Regions from separate parts of the Homo sapiens genome. Here all the other regions are linked to region 1. Evidence: promoter capture Hi-C in human tissues and cell types (Jung and others, 2019). All regions are on one chromosome and are shown on one strand. The core of a region is centred on a gene start or on the middle of the fragment in contact, and the rest is flanking DNA. Distances in the headings are between cores, read along the strand shown. Region 1 holds the start of VPS18 (VPS18 core subunit of CORVET and HOPS complexes). Region 2 overlaps MGA (MAX dimerization protein MGA). Region 3 overlaps RTF1 (RTF1 homolog, Paf1/RNA polymerase II complex component).

Region 1 (4,921 bases), core at 1,795-4,294:
TAACATAAATAGGGTGGTTTTGTTGCTGTCATTATAAAAATGCCTTCATATTGCACATATGTGTATGTGTCTTAATTTGTAAATTTTCTAAATTAATGATATTTCATGAACATTCCACTAGTCAATCGATATAGCTCTAACTTTTTTTGTTTTTACCCCCAAACCCAGCTTTCCAGGATAACTCTTTTTTTTTTTTTCAGACAAAGTCTTGCTCTTGTCATCCAGGCTGGAGTGCAGTGAGCATGATCTCGGCTCACTGCAACCTCTGCCTCCCGGGTTCAAGCCATTCTCCTGCCTCAGCCTCCCAAATAGCTGGGATTACAGGCACCTGCCACCACACCCTGCTAATTTTATATTTTTAGTAGAGAAGGGGTTTCTCCATGTTGGCCAGGCTGGTCTTGAACTCCCGACCTCAGGTGATCTGCCTGCCTCAGCCTCCCAAAGTGCTGGGATTACAGGCGTGAGCCACCTCGCCCAGCCAGGATAATTCATTTTTTTAAACAACTGCATTATATTCTATTTTGTGGCTGAATTGCAGTTTAATCACCATTTTCCTATTGATGAGCATTCAGCATGGATCCAGTTTTTCCCACCACAAGAATGCTCTAATCAATACTCTAATACTCTTAAGTCTACACTCCTAAACAGTTTTTTTTTTTTTCCTTTTCCTTTTTTTTTTTTTGAGATGGAGTCTCACTGTTGTCGCCTGGGCTGGAGTTCAATGGTGCAATCTCAGCTCACTGCAACTTCCGGCTCCCAGGTTCCAGCAATTCTCCTGCCTCAGCCTCCCCAGTAGCTGAGATTACAGGCGCCTGCCACCACGCCCGGCTAACTTTTGTATTTTTAGTAGAAACAGCGTTTCACCATGTTGGCCAGGCTGGTGTCGAACTCCTGACCTCAGGTGATCCACCCTCCTCAGCCTCCCAAAGTGCTGGGATAACAGGTGTGAGCCACTGCACCTGACTTTTTTTTTTTTTTAAAGAGACAGGAGTACAGTGGTGCAAACACAGCTCACTGCAGCCTTGAACTCCTGGGCTCAAGTGATCCTCTTGCCTCGGCCTCCCCAGTAGTTGGGACTGCACCATCACACCTAGCTAATTTTTAAAAATTTGTTTTGGTAGAGACGGGGGTCTCACTATATTGCCCAGGCTGGTCTCAAACTGCTGATTTCATGTGATCCTCTTGTCTTGGCCTCCCGAAGTGCTGAGATGATAGGTGTGAGCCACCATGCCCTGCCAGGCCAGATACTTAACCACTACCCTGTATTGGTTCTCTTTGGAAAGGGATAGGATATTTCCTGAAAACTCCAAATTCACTGCTTTACTTGCCTGGAATAGAAGAAAGGCCCAGTGAGTTAACAGTCCCCAAACACCTCTCTAGTCCCTACTCCTAAGCTCTGTGAGCTCTTGATTACCGGAGCAGTGTATCCTTGCCCAGGCTCATGCACAGCTGATTGCTGGAGACGACAAGACTGGTAATGCGCTCGGAAGGGGTGAAGTCAATGCGCTGCTTTGTGAAGATGGGCACTTCCTTCTCCAGCTGGGCATTCACATACCCTACAGGTAAGGAATGACAAGAAGATTAGCTGTGGAAGAGACAGGTGAAGGGCAAGGAGAGGCAGAAAAAACACCACAGTGCTCCTCGCCACTTTCCTGACATATTCCTATCCCCAGGACCTTGGTTAACAAATAGTTTGATATCAAGTCGTTTGCTGGTCACCTTTACAATAGAGGTCTGGAGCTCTTTCCACACTCTGACAGCAGTGAGGGGTTGATTCTTTGAACCCTTAAGATGCTGTCACAGCATGATATACCTGCTCCCACTGGTAATGGGGCTGCGTGGAGGTGGGACGGGACTGGTGGTCTGGGTATTCTCCCTTATCAGGTCTTTGGCCCAGCAATCCCAGCTTAACTGAAGTAGTATAGCCCCATTCTCTGCCCCCCTCCCTGCCCATGCGGTAATGAGCCTCAGTGTAGAGTTGGCAAGTGCTGGGATATTTTGAGCATTGAATGAAGGTAAAGACTAGAGTGAAAGCAGCTCCAATTCGTTAACTCCACTCACTGGAACAGTTCCCCAGGGCTCCCTATGCCCTCATTCTCCTGGAGACTCACTACTTTCTACAAAAACGTCCCCAAACTCCAGGCTGCACCCAGCTATAGCCAAGGCCAAAAAGATTTCATCTCCATTTTCCCCGTTCAGCGACAAAATTCCCTCTGGGACCCTCCCTTCTTCCTCTGCAATACTCCGCCTTCACCACTTTCTTTGTCCATTCCTTCCCTCCCACCTCCAGAAGGGGCCTGGTGGGAAAAGCATCAGCAGAAGCCGGGAGCCCATTCTAAGTTCTCCCAACAGCCCAACTGCGCCCTGTAGGTGAGTAATTCCTTATCTGGGCCCCAATTCCCTCTCAAAAGGACCCTAGCGGTAGAGCCTAGATCACGCGGCAGCTCCCGTTGCTCTTTCAAACTTCGACTATCCACCAGCTGGGGGCCAAGAGAGCCTGAGGAGAATCAGGGGCCTAGACCCGGAAGGCACGGCCCAGGGGATGACCCCGAGCTCTTGGAGCTGCCCTCCTCGCTGCTCCCACGCAAATGCTAGGAGAGCCGAAAGGGGCAGCGGCACCCTCCTCTTCCTTACCCGAGTGGGGGATGCCCACGCTAGGGCAGCCGGGCTGCAAGACGGCCGAGCGGGACAGCGAGTTCTCGTACTCATCCAGGATGGACGCCATGGTGCCCGGCCTCTGGGCTCTTTGTCCGGGGCCTGGGGATTACAAAAGGGCTACCCCCCCGGGGTCCCCGTCGCCCCAGAATGGAAGCTGTAACTCCCCAGCCTCTGACAGATCCTGGGAACCTGCAGCCGTCGCCTCCTCTTTAAAATCCTGAGGATCCTCTTGCTCTTGCCTTATGCAGCGAGATAATCGGGCAGCCCTCGTCCTTGAATCTGGCGCAGTCTTGCACCTTACTCCCCGCCCCCGCTACAAAAAAATCACAGGCTCCCTTCAGCCGGTGCCAGGTGATCCCAACCTCGCCCCGGCAGCTCAGCTGACTCCCGCCCCCGTGACGCGGGCCTAAAACGTAACTTCCGGGTTCTCAGAGCCCCGCGTACGCTGGCGCACAACGTCGCCGGGCCAGCCAGCAGAAGGCGAGACGAGGGCTGAGGGCTGGGCGCGTGGCGAGTGCTGCTGAACACAAGCCCCGCCCCCAGGATCCTGCTGCAGTTCCGAGCTTTGACACCAGGAGGCAATCCCGGCTTTCTCAGCCGGCCTTCCCCACCCGCCCCGCGCCGCCCAGTTTTGGCTTTCGTGCCCAAGCTCCGCTCCCTCGGGTGGTCTGTCCAGCCTCCCTGACCAGCTCCCGCTCCCGCCTCTCTAAACAGCCTCGGGGAACCTCCCGTTCCTCAATCCAATCGCTGTCTCTATCCCACCGTCACAGGGCACACGCAGACAACTCCTGGCCACTCTTCTCCCTTACCCAAAGGCCCCCCAGCTTCCAGGAGACCGCAGAGCTGGTGGCCAGGCTAGTGGGAAGCCCTGTGCCAGGAACCGCCCTGACCTGCCCCACAGTGGCTCCTTGGCTCAGGGTTGCTGGGCCGCTTCCATTCACTCATTCACCAAAATGTGGTTGAGCACTTACTCTGTGCCAGGCCTTGGGCTGGGCGCTGGGGTCACAGAGATGAGGACAGCCCCTCCCCGCCCTGGAAAAGGTCGTAAGCCAGCAGGGGCGCTGGACCCGTAAATAGACCATTCATACTAGAAAAGCAAGTGATGGATTATCCATCAGGCACTTACTCCACGAATGAGCGTCCACTCTGTGCCAAGCACTGTTCCAGGCTCTGGGGACGTGGCAGAGAACAAGACGGAAAATGTCTCTTGCCTGGTGGGGCGTACCCAGCGACGTGGCCACGGCACTGAGAGCGTGAAGGAGCAGGGAACAAATACCTGCCAAGCCTAGCAAGAACGAGGGACAAGTGGGAGCAAGCGTGAAGGCGGGGGCCGCCCAGCCTGAGGTGGAGAGGGGAGTCCTCAGCCAGGGACCTGCGAGGGCTGGGGCGCGACTGTGGTTGGGTTTTCCTCTCTCACCTGCTTAGGCGACCCAGATGGAGTCTGTTCCCTTCTGGGGCCCTTGGATTCTACCTTGCTAAAGTGGAAGGCTCTGGACTAGGGTCGCCACCGTCCTGGCTCTGCTGGGCGGCCCCCGCCTAACAACTAAGAGCATCCCTTTGCTCTCAGAAGTTTCCAGGTTTGCACCATACCTTATGTGGTTGGGTTACTCTTGCTCAACTTCCTGGCCACGTGCGGAGAACTGTGACTCTCACCAGCCCCACTGAGGGCTATCTGGGCTCTCTGGCTTGGAGGGGCACTAGTCCTGGGGCAGGTGACAAGTATGCTGTCCAGGCTCATTTCCCTTCGCACCAGGGTCCTGCTTCTCTTGACCAAGCCTGCAGCCTCAATGCAGCCTTCCCACCTGAGGTTGCCAGGTCCCAGGAGGGAAGTGCAGGAGCAGGACAATAGGCAGGAGGCTTCCTCTAAGAAAAGTGATCCCAGACAGGGAGCTGCCCTGCTCCATACATAACACTTCACCCCCAGGTCACCTGCCATCTGCCCTCAGGTCTGGACTGTGCAGAGGGTTGTCCCTGCTGCACAGAGCCCATTAGCAGTTGGAGGTCAGCATAGGAGTGCTGCCTTAGGGACACAGAGTACTTCCAGCTACAGCCTCAGGGACCCCAGCACCCCATTGTTGGGCTCCATGGCTCTCCGGGATGTATGGGATAGGCCTGGGTGGACCCTGTTTGTGGCAGACTCAGTACAGTCTCCCTTATGCGTTGATTACCACAGTGCATTTCCACCTACTCATTCTTCAGTTCTTAGGCTGGACTTTGGATTCTTTGAGAGCCACAGAATCAAGTGTGGCAGTTGCAATGAGAC
Region 2 (4,921 bases), core at 615-3,114, 770 kb before region 1:
TTACTGGTGATGACACACTACTAGCCAAAGCACAGGCATCCTGATTAGTAACCAAAATTCCTTGATCAGTTTTGCCATTTCCTGGCTGCTTTAAGATGACAAAGAAGGTAGGTGCTGCTCCTGCCACTGTTCCACCATCTTGATTAGCCAATATAATCTGCTGTTTCTCCTCCATGATTTCAGTAGGAAACTCAGTAGTAAGACAACTGTAATCACCACATAGTCACAATGGCCTTCCCATCCTAAGAAACAAGCAAAAAAAAACCAAAAACAAAAAACACCCTTTAATCAAGTGAGTATTTATTTCTTGAACAAAAATACAAGAACGATTATGTTATCCCCAAAATATTCCTAAATTCTTCTAAGACTTTGCTTCTAAGCTTTTCTTTCAATCACAGTAAGAATATTTACTCTGGAATATCTAATCATTTTTTAAAGTTCATTTTAATCTAATTAGTTAAGGTGCTTATATCCTAATCCTCTAACAATTCACTATAAATACTATAATCTCACACAAAGAAACAAAAGAGTATATTCATTATTAAAAAAGTATACAAAATTAAAAAGTTAAATTTGAAGGTTATGCATTTTTAAAGCATCCTAACACTTTATGAATTTACCAGAAGATTCCTTTATATAGCAAGTTCCCCAGTGATGAGTAAATTAAATAAGTAAAGTTCCATTTTCATCCCAAAGAGCTAATTGTACAGAATTAGTTCTTCATATGGTTCAGAAGACATGGTTCCATAAATAAGTAAAAAGCTATCTAACTTCTTAGTACACACGTTTAAAGAAGCCATGACAAATCACTGGAACTCAATGGACCTTACACTGAAATAAATTCCAGATGACTCTAATATTTAATTTTTTTATTCCTAAATCCTGAGAAAAGTTTTTTGATAAGACACAAAATCTAAAACCAGTAAGGCCAAAAAAAAAAAAAGTGATAAATTTAATACTATATGATGCCAGGTGTGGTGGCTCACACCTGCAATCCCAGCACTTTGAGAGGCTGAGGCCAGTGGATCATTTAAAGCCAGGAATTCGAGACTAGCCTGGCCAACATGGCGAAACCCCATCTCTATTAAAAATTAAAAAATTAGCCTGGTGTGGTGGTGCACGCCTGTAGTCCCAGCTACTCAGGAGGCTGAGGCATGAGAATCACTTGATCCTAGGAGGCAGAAGGTGCACTGAGCCAAGATCACGCCACTGCACTCCAGCCTGGGTGACAGGGAAAGACTCCGTCTCAAAGAAATAAAAATAAAATAAAATTTAATATTCTGTAAATTTTTTAATCTGGCAAAATCATTTAAGCAAAATCAAAAAGCAAACTAACCAGGAAAAGGTATTTGCAACTTATAAAGAACTCCTTTCCCTAATATAAAAAGGGGGCTGGACATGGTGACTCACACCTATAATCCCAGCACTTTGGGAGGCCAAGGCAGGAGGATTGCTTGAAGTCAGGAGTCCCAGACCAGCCTGTCCAACGTAGTGAAAGTCCGTCTCTATTAAAAAATAATAGCGGCGGGGGAGCAGTGGCTCACGCCTGTAATCCAAGCACTCTGGGAGGCCAAGGAGGTCAGATCACTTGAGGTCAGGAGCTCAAGACCAGCCTGGCCAACATGGTGAAACCCTGTCTCTACTAAAAATAAAAAAATTAGCTAGGCATGGTGGTGTGCGCCCATAATCCCAGGTACTCGGGAGGCTAAGACAAGAGAATTGCTTGAACCCAGGAGGTGGAGTTGCAGCGAGCCAAGATGGCACCACTGCACTTCAGCCTGGGTGACAGAGCGAGACTCTGACTCAAAAAAAAAAATAAAAATACATTAACAGTAATAATAATTTTTAAAGGCTTCCTACAAATCAACAAGACCAAATACCTAACAGAAAAATGAGTAAAGGATAATAAACGCAAATGGCTATGAATATGTACATAGTTAAGAGGAAAGCAAATTAAAGTCATCTTGAGATACTGTTTTTTTACTTATCAGACTGGCAAAAATCAAAGCCTGGTAGTGCTGGAAAGGGTTAGGTCAACCAGCATTCTCCCCTAAGCAGTTACTGGGAGTATAAAATAATAGAATCTCTAAGAGAGGGCAACTTGAAAATATCAAAAGTACAAATCCATATATCATCCTATGACAAAGAATTGTTCCCAGGACTTTAAGTTTTCTTAATTCACTGTTAAAACCCACTATAGGACTTTATTTTAAATACACACACCTGTGATAAATGATATCTATACAAGATTATCCCCTGCATTCCCACTTATAACAGCAAAAGACTAGACAGGAAGAGAGAAGTCCTTAAAATGGTAAAACAAATGATGACACATCCATAGAGTGGAATGTTAACAGTCACAAAAGAGAATGTATAAGCTTAATGAATGCATGCAAAAAGTATCTACAAGATATATTAAGCGTAAAATGTTCAGAAGAGTTGTAAATTATGCCACACATCTTTTAAAAGTTTTTTATTGTACCTCTTAAACTTCAGACAGGGAGAACACGTGCAGGTTTGTTTACATGAGTCTACTGCATAATATAAGGTTTGGGCTTCTAATGATCCCATCATCCAAGCAGTGAACATAGTACCTGATAGGTAGTTTTTCAACCCTTGTAAAAGATTTTTCCTTTTTAAAATCAAAGAAATAGACAGTATTTCGGTCTTTAAAATAAATAAAAAGCCAAAGAATGAAAAAGAACATGTACATATTTGCTTTACACAGACTATCTCTGGAAAGACAGAAAAGAAAACAGTAGTATTGGTCATATCCAAGGAAAACTTGATGACTTGGAAAAGATACCCTTTTACACTTTGTAAATTTTGTGTCTTGTGAACACACAACCTTTAAAAACTAAAACACAGGCCAGGTGGGCAGGTGCAGTGGCTCACACCGGTAATTCCATCACTTTAGGAGGCCCATGTGGGAGTAACGTTTGAGGTCAAGAGTTCAAGACCAGCCTGGTCAAAATAGCCAGTCAGTCTCTACCAAAAAAAAAAAAAAAATAGCAGGTATGGTGGCCAGGAGGCTGAGGCAGGAGGACACCTTCAGCAGCCCTGGAAGTTCAGGTTGCAGTGAGCCATAACCATATCACTGCACTCCAGCCTAGGAGACAGAGTGAGACCCCGTCTCTTTAAAAAAATAAAAAATAAAGTTAAAATTAGTTAATTATTAAAGGTTATAAAGAAAAAGGTCACATATATTGTATGATTCCATTTATATGAGATGTCCAACACAGGCAAATCTAGAGAAACAAAGTAGATTAGTGGTTTCAGGGGAAGGGGTAACTGGGACTAACTGCTAATGGGTGTGGGATTTCTTTTTGGTGTATACTTTAAAATGATGAATTATATGTTATGTGAATTATATCTCAATAAAAAGTTATAATAAAGAAATGAGGCCGGCCATGGTGGCTCATGCCTATAATGCCAGCACGTTGGGAGGCTGAGGCAGGAGGATCGCTTAAGCCCAGGAGTTTGAGACCAACCTGGAAAACACAGTGAGACTCCATCTCTACAATGGTGTGTAGCTGTAGTCCCAGCTACTTGAGTGGCTGAGGTGAGAGGATCCCTCGAGCCTGGGGGTGGGGAGGCCAAGGCTGCAGTGAGCTGTGATGGTGCCACTGCACTCCAGTCTAGATGACAGAGTGAGACCCTGTCTCAAAAAAAAAAAACCAAAACGAAATCTGATTGCTAAAATCAACCGAACTCATATGCCAAATTAAAGCTACAGCTTCCAGTTTTTATACAAAAAGGAAGATGCTACATCACCACCACTCCTGTGTAAGTGGGTCAGTAATCTTAATCAAATTCAGCCACTTATTAGTCTTCTTCATTATAATTAAAAAGTATTTTACCTTTCATCAGAGCTAATGATGAGCAGCAAAAGCACCTAATCTGAATTTTACCTCTTCTTACAAGATTGGTCATACAGCTCCAAAGCTTAAAATATCTGTTAGTCTACAGATAATAGATATTTTTAAAATCACGACTTCAAAAGGTTTACTATTGTTTCCTATTATGACTAGAGATAAAAATAGAAATTCACTTCCCAACACTAAAGCACTAATATCAGGAAAGGTCAGGAACAACAACAACAAAAAATCTCTCCTCTGATGTGAAGTTTATTTTTAAAAGAGATAAAATGTACAGTGATTCTTTTCAAAAGCTGCCTCAAGCTTTTACCTATGAAGTTGATTGGTTTTCTAAAACTAACACACTTAGGCGATACCTATCAGAGACTGACAAAACAAAACTAAACGGAAGTCACAAATAAGGTAAAATATTAAAGCTTAAAGAACTGGCAAAAAAAAAATACCTCTACAATGATGTATAATTCAAACAATGCAAACTCCTAGCTTGTACTTATTAATTCATAAACTTCAAGGTTTTATTACAAATCACCAACTATTTTTGTGAATAAGTATGCAAAACATCCTTTGTGTGTATGTGTTCCACGTGAGCACAACATCCTTAGGTGCATTTCATATGACTAAGGCAGCAAAGAAGTATATGAAAAAAAATCTAGTTATCCCAAACCTATAAATTACATGAAAAGGTGCCGAATTTATTAAACATCTTTCTATAAACTAAAATTTTGGTTTTCAGATCATTACCAGTAAAACCAAGACAGAGAAGTTTTAACCAATTCTTTAAAAATTACTGTCTTTTAAAGATTAATCTATGAAATGTCAAAGATGCAGTTGACAAAAACCCAGTTTGGTGAAAATCAGACTGCACTTGAAGTAAATTTTACACTAACTTTATATACACACACTGAGTTTTTCTTTCTGCCGAAGCAAAATATTAGTGCAGAGAAGTCATATCAACCTATTTCAACTTTGTGCACAGGCATATAATAAAAAAATGTAAAAATGTGCCTGAAGACAGGAAAATAAACTTCTGACTTATGATTTGT
Region 3 (4,921 bases), core at 921-3,420, 530 kb before region 1:
CCAGGGTGGGTGGATCACGAGGTCAGGAGATCCAGACCATCCTGGCTAACACGGTGAAACCCCGTCTCTACTAAAAATACAAAAAATTAGCCGGGCATGGTGGCGGGTGCCTGTAGTCCCAGCTACTCAGGAGGCTGAGGCAGGAGAATGGCGTGAACCCGGGAGGCGGAGCTTGCAGTGAGCCGAGATCGCACCACTGCACTCCGGCCTGGGCAACAGAGCAAGACTCTGTCTCAAAAAAAAAAAAAAAAAAAAAAAATTTGTAGACCAGGCATGGTGGCTCATGCCTGTAGTCCCAGCACTTTGGGAGGCCAAGGTGGGTGGATCACGAGGTCAGGAGTTCAAGACCAGCCTGGCCAACATGGTGAAACCCTATCTCTACTAAAAATACAAAAATTAGCTGGGCGTGGTGGTGGGCCCCTGTAATCCCAGCTGCTTGGCAGGCTGAGGCAGGAGAATTGCTTGAACCTGGGAGGTGGAGGTTGCAGTGAGCCGAGATCACACCATTGCGCTCCAGCCTGGGCAACAGAGTGAGACTCTGCCTAAAAAACAAACAAACAAACAAACAAACAAAAATTACACACACACACACACACACACACACACACACACACACACACACATATATATGTAGCGGCTGGGCACAGTAGACTCACGCCTGTAATCCCAACACTTCAGGAGGCCGGCGGGGGGGGGGGGCGGGGGGGGGGGGGGGCGGGGTGGATCACCTGAGGTCAGGAGTTCGAGACCAGCCTGGCCAACATGGAAAAACCCCATCTCTACTAAAAATACAAAAAAATGGCCAGGCACAGTGGCTCACGCTTGTAATCCTAGCAGTTCGGGAAGCCGAGGTGGGCAGATCATGACGTCTGGAGTTCGAGATCAGCCTGGCCAATATGGTGAAACCCTGTCTCTACTAAAAATACAAAAAATTAGTCAGGCATGGTGGCGCACGCCTGTAGTCCCAGCTACTCGGGAGGCTGAGGCAGAAGAATCGCTTGAATCCAGGAGGGGGAGGTTGCAGTGAGCAGAGATCGTGCCACTGCACTCCACCCTGGGCGACAGAGCGAGACTCTATCCCAAAAAAAAAAATAAAAACAAACAATCAAAAAAATTAGCTGGGCATGGTGGCATGTGCCTGTAATCCCAGCTACTCAGGAGGCTGAGGCACGAGAATCGCTTGAACCCAGGGCGGAGGTTGCAGTGAGCCAAGATGGTGTCACTGCACTCCAGCCTAGGCAACAGAGCGAGACTCCACCTCCAAAAAAAATTTTTTTTTTTTGTAGAGATCAGGTTTCATCATCATGTTGCCTAGGCTGATCTCAAACTCCTGAGCTCAAGCAATCCTCCCACCTCAGCCTCCCAAAGTGCTGGGATTACAGGCATGAGCCATTGTGCCTGGCCCTCAAGTGTTATTTTCAACTACCTACTTGATGTCTCCACTTAGACATCTCATAGTCACTTCGAACTCCACATATCCCAGACTGAATGCAGGATCTTCACCTCTAAACCTGCTCCTCCAGCACTCCCCATCTCATGCCAGTGCCTGGCATCAATCCTAAATACTCCTCTTCTCATCCTAACATCTAATCAGTCCTCAGTCTTCAAGGCCTTTTAGTTCTACATACTGAACATCATGTCCAACCAATTCCACTATCTGTCATCTCTATAACAACCATATCAATCCAAGTCAGTCCTTCATTTAATAAATACTGACTGGGTGCCAACTGCATATAGGCACTGCTCTAGATGCCAGGGACAGCATAGTGAACACATACGGTTACCCTCCTGGCGCTTCCATTCTAATGGAACTTATGTTCTCCATCATCTCTCATCTGGACTCCTCTCTCTGCCACTTCATTAGTGTCCCCCTCCATATTACTCTCCACAATAGTCTGGGTAAGGCAAATCTGAAAATCTTCTCCAACTTAAAATCCTTCAATGGCTTCCTATTACTCTCAGAATAAACTCCAAAGTCTCTACTAAAAATACAAAAATTGGCCAGGCGCGGTGGCTCACACCTGTAATCCCAGCACACTTTGGGAGGCCGAGGCGGGCAGATCATGAGGTCAGGAGATCAAGACCATCCTGGCTAACATGGTGAAACCCGTGCCTACTAAAAATACAAAAAAAAAATTAGCCGGACACAGTGGCAGGCGCCTATAGTCCCAGCTACTCGGGAGGCTGAGGCAGGAGAATGGTATGAACCCGGGAGGCGAAGCTTGCAGTGGCAGAGACAGCGCCACTGCAGTCCGGCCTGGGCAAAAGAGCGAGACTCCGTCTCAAAAATAAAAAACAAAAATTAGCCAAGTGTGGTGGCACACACTTGCAGTCCCAGCCACCGGGGAGGCTGACGCCCTCCAGTGGCTTTAAATTTTTTTCTTTTTTTCTTTTGTTTTTTTTAGACGGAGTCTCTCTGTCACCCAGGCTAATACAGTGGTGATCTCGGCTCACTGCAACCTCCGCCTCCTAGGTTCAAGGGATTCTCATGCCTCAGCCTCACCAGTGGCTGGGACTACAGGTGTGTGCCACCGCACTTGGCTAATTTTTGTATTTTTACTAGAGATGGGGTTTCGCCATGTTGGCCCGCCTGGTCGAACTCCTGGCCTCATATGATCCACCCACCTCGGCCTCCCAAAGTGCTGGGATTAAAGGCGTGAGCCACTGCGCCTGGCCAAAAAACTTTTCTCTTTTTAACGCAGCCCACAGGAAGATAAATTATACCTCACAACCCAGTATACATCTACATGTACATATGAGACACACAAATTTCATCACTTATATTTACTATGTATGACACATTTGATGTTTTCTATCAATTCAATTTTATTTTTACTGCTGAGTGTAGTCCGTAAACTGACTTCTCCATCCTCAAAGGGTCAAAACAGAATCTACCTCTACAGTTTCATTTGTACTATTCTCTCTCCAACTATGCAACTAGTTTATGTTACTCACTCTGTGCTTCTTTCAGTTTCATAAGGGTTCGAGGTCCTTCCTGTCTCATTTCTTTTATATATGCTGGTGCCTCAACCATGAACATTCAACACTCTTCCCTTTACTCTTCAGTCTTCTAATCTGCTTCTCCTTAACACATATTCCAGGTCTGTTTCAATGTCACTCTCATCAGGCTAGAATAGGGTCCCTGGTTAATATTTCCACAGTATTCTTGTCCTTGCTTCATGGCCTGTAGTGCAATTGTAAGGAAATTACTCTCTCTGAGCAATCTCCCCACCTCATCTCTCTCTCATTCCACTTTACACTCCTTGAAGGTGGAAACTGCTTCCATTTTGTTCACCCAATAGCTCTAGTGTCTAACGCTGTCTAATACATCTGTTGAACGATGAACAATCAGGCCGGATGCGGTGGCTCATGCCTGAAATCCCAGCACCCTGGGGAAGCCAAGGAGGGCGGATCACTTGAGGTCAGGAGTTTGAGACCAGCCTGGCCAACATGGTGAAACCCCATCTCTACTAAAAATACAAAAATTAGTCGGGCATGGTGGTGCATACCTGTAATCCCAGCTACTTGGGAGGCTGAGGCAGGATAATTGCTTGAACCCGGGAAGCGGAGGTGGCAGTGAGCTGAGATCGTCCCACTGCACTCCAGCCTGGGCAACAAAGTGAGACTCCATCTCAAAATAAATAAATAAATAAATAAAAATAAATACACCAATATGACCTGTGTCTGAAGATCAGTTTTGTATTTTTCCTAAAAGCCTCACTGTTAAAGCTCCCAGGGCTGGGCGTGGTGGCTCACCCCTGTAATCCCAGCACTTTGGGAGGCCGAGGTGGGTGGATCATCTGAGGTCGGGAGTTTGAGACCAGACTGACCAACATGGAGAAACCCCATCTCTAATAAAAATGTAAAATTAGCCGGGAGTGGTGGCGCGTGCCTGTCATCCCAGCTACTCGGGAGGCTAAGGCAGGAGAATCACTTGAACCTAGAGGCGGAGGCTACAGTGAGCCCAGCGTGCCATTGCTCTCCAGCCTGGGTGACAGAGCAAGACTCCATCTTGGGTGGGGGCTGGGTGGGGAGGGAGCTCCCATGGGACTCACTCTTTGAAAAGAGTGAAATTAACAAGCGAATTACATCAAGCTAGATGCAACATGACACAAATTAAAGTTTTCACAAATTAACACTGACACTTCTCACAAACTCTTCCTACACTTCAAAATTTGCCTCTGATTAATGCGGAAAACACTACATTAACAAGAAGCACAACTTTTAAATTTCTCAAGATTTATGGGGAAGGTTTATAGAAGTATACTTTATAATAATAATATTCTTTACATGTAGTATCTAAAAACAGCTCCTAGAAAATACTTACAGGGCTGGCCGGGCACGGTGGTTCACGCCTGTAATCCCAACACTTTGGGAGGCCGAGGAGGGTGGATCACGAGGTCAGGAGTTCAAGACCAGCCTGGCCAAGATGGTGAAACCCCGTCTCTACTAAAAATACAAAAATTAGCTGGACGTGGTGGCGTGCGCCTGTAATCCAAGCTACTCGGAAGGCTGAGGCAGAGAATTGTTTGAACCCGGGAGGCGGAGGCTGCAGGAGCCAAGATCGCGCCACTGCACTCCAGCCTGGGTGACAGAGCGAGACTCCGTCTCAAAAAAAAGAAAAAAGAAAATACTTAGGGGGGCCTATTCTCTCAAAGACAAATTTAATTATTGCTACTTCAAGTTAGATAAACAGAGAAAAACAGGACATGACAATATAATCTCCATTTTAAATAAGAAACCTATAAAATAAAGCATCCCAGTGTGCACATAGCTCAATTTTTAGTTTTTTAGAAAGGTAGAGTAAAATTTTTATAAATACGGAGTTGTACTGATTTGAATTGAGAACTCTGGTTCCTTTATTATCTTGAATGCTTTTCATTTTATAGGACTTACTGCATAAATATTATTCCATAAAGGG

Evidence for each region. Contacts are between HindIII fragments. The study calls those that stand out against the background at their distance.
Region 2: a fragment that was not itself captured here is called in contact with the fragment with the promoter of VPS18 in region 1 in 1 of the 25 tissues and cell types used here (spleen).
Region 3: a contact is called between a fragment that was not itself captured here and the fragment with the promoter of VPS18 in region 1, in 1 of the 25 tissues and cell types used here (pancreas).

What each region holds. Positions count from the first base shown.
Region 1 is chr15:40,892,573-40,897,493 of GRCh38, reverse strand. It overlaps VPS18 (VPS18 core subunit of CORVET and HOPS complexes), which reads right to left and starts at 3,044. Exons shown (of 5, transcript NM_020857.3): 1 at 2,635-3,044; 2 at 1,415-1,556. The coding sequence starts at 2,725. RefSeq lists an enhancer at 2,229-2,318 and a silencer at 3,159-3,328. The HindIII fragment of the contact is 19,251 bases long and covers 1-4,921 here.
Region 2 is chr15:41,664,149-41,669,069 of GRCh38, reverse strand. MGA (MAX dimerization protein MGA) reads right to left here. Exons shown (of 24, transcript NM_001400225.1): 2 at 1-242. The coding sequence starts at 175. Among named protein-coding and RNA genes, the nearest start is that of MGA, 6.2 kb to the right of the region's middle. The HindIII fragment of the contact is 4,748 bases long and covers 1-4,238 here.
Region 3 is chr15:41,422,484-41,427,404 of GRCh38, reverse strand. The region is part of intron 1 of RTF1 (RTF1 homolog, Paf1/RNA polymerase II complex component); the gene reads right to left. Among named protein-coding and RNA genes, the nearest start is that of RTF1, 7.8 kb to the right of the region's middle. The HindIII fragment of the contact is 8,350 bases long and covers 1-4,921 here.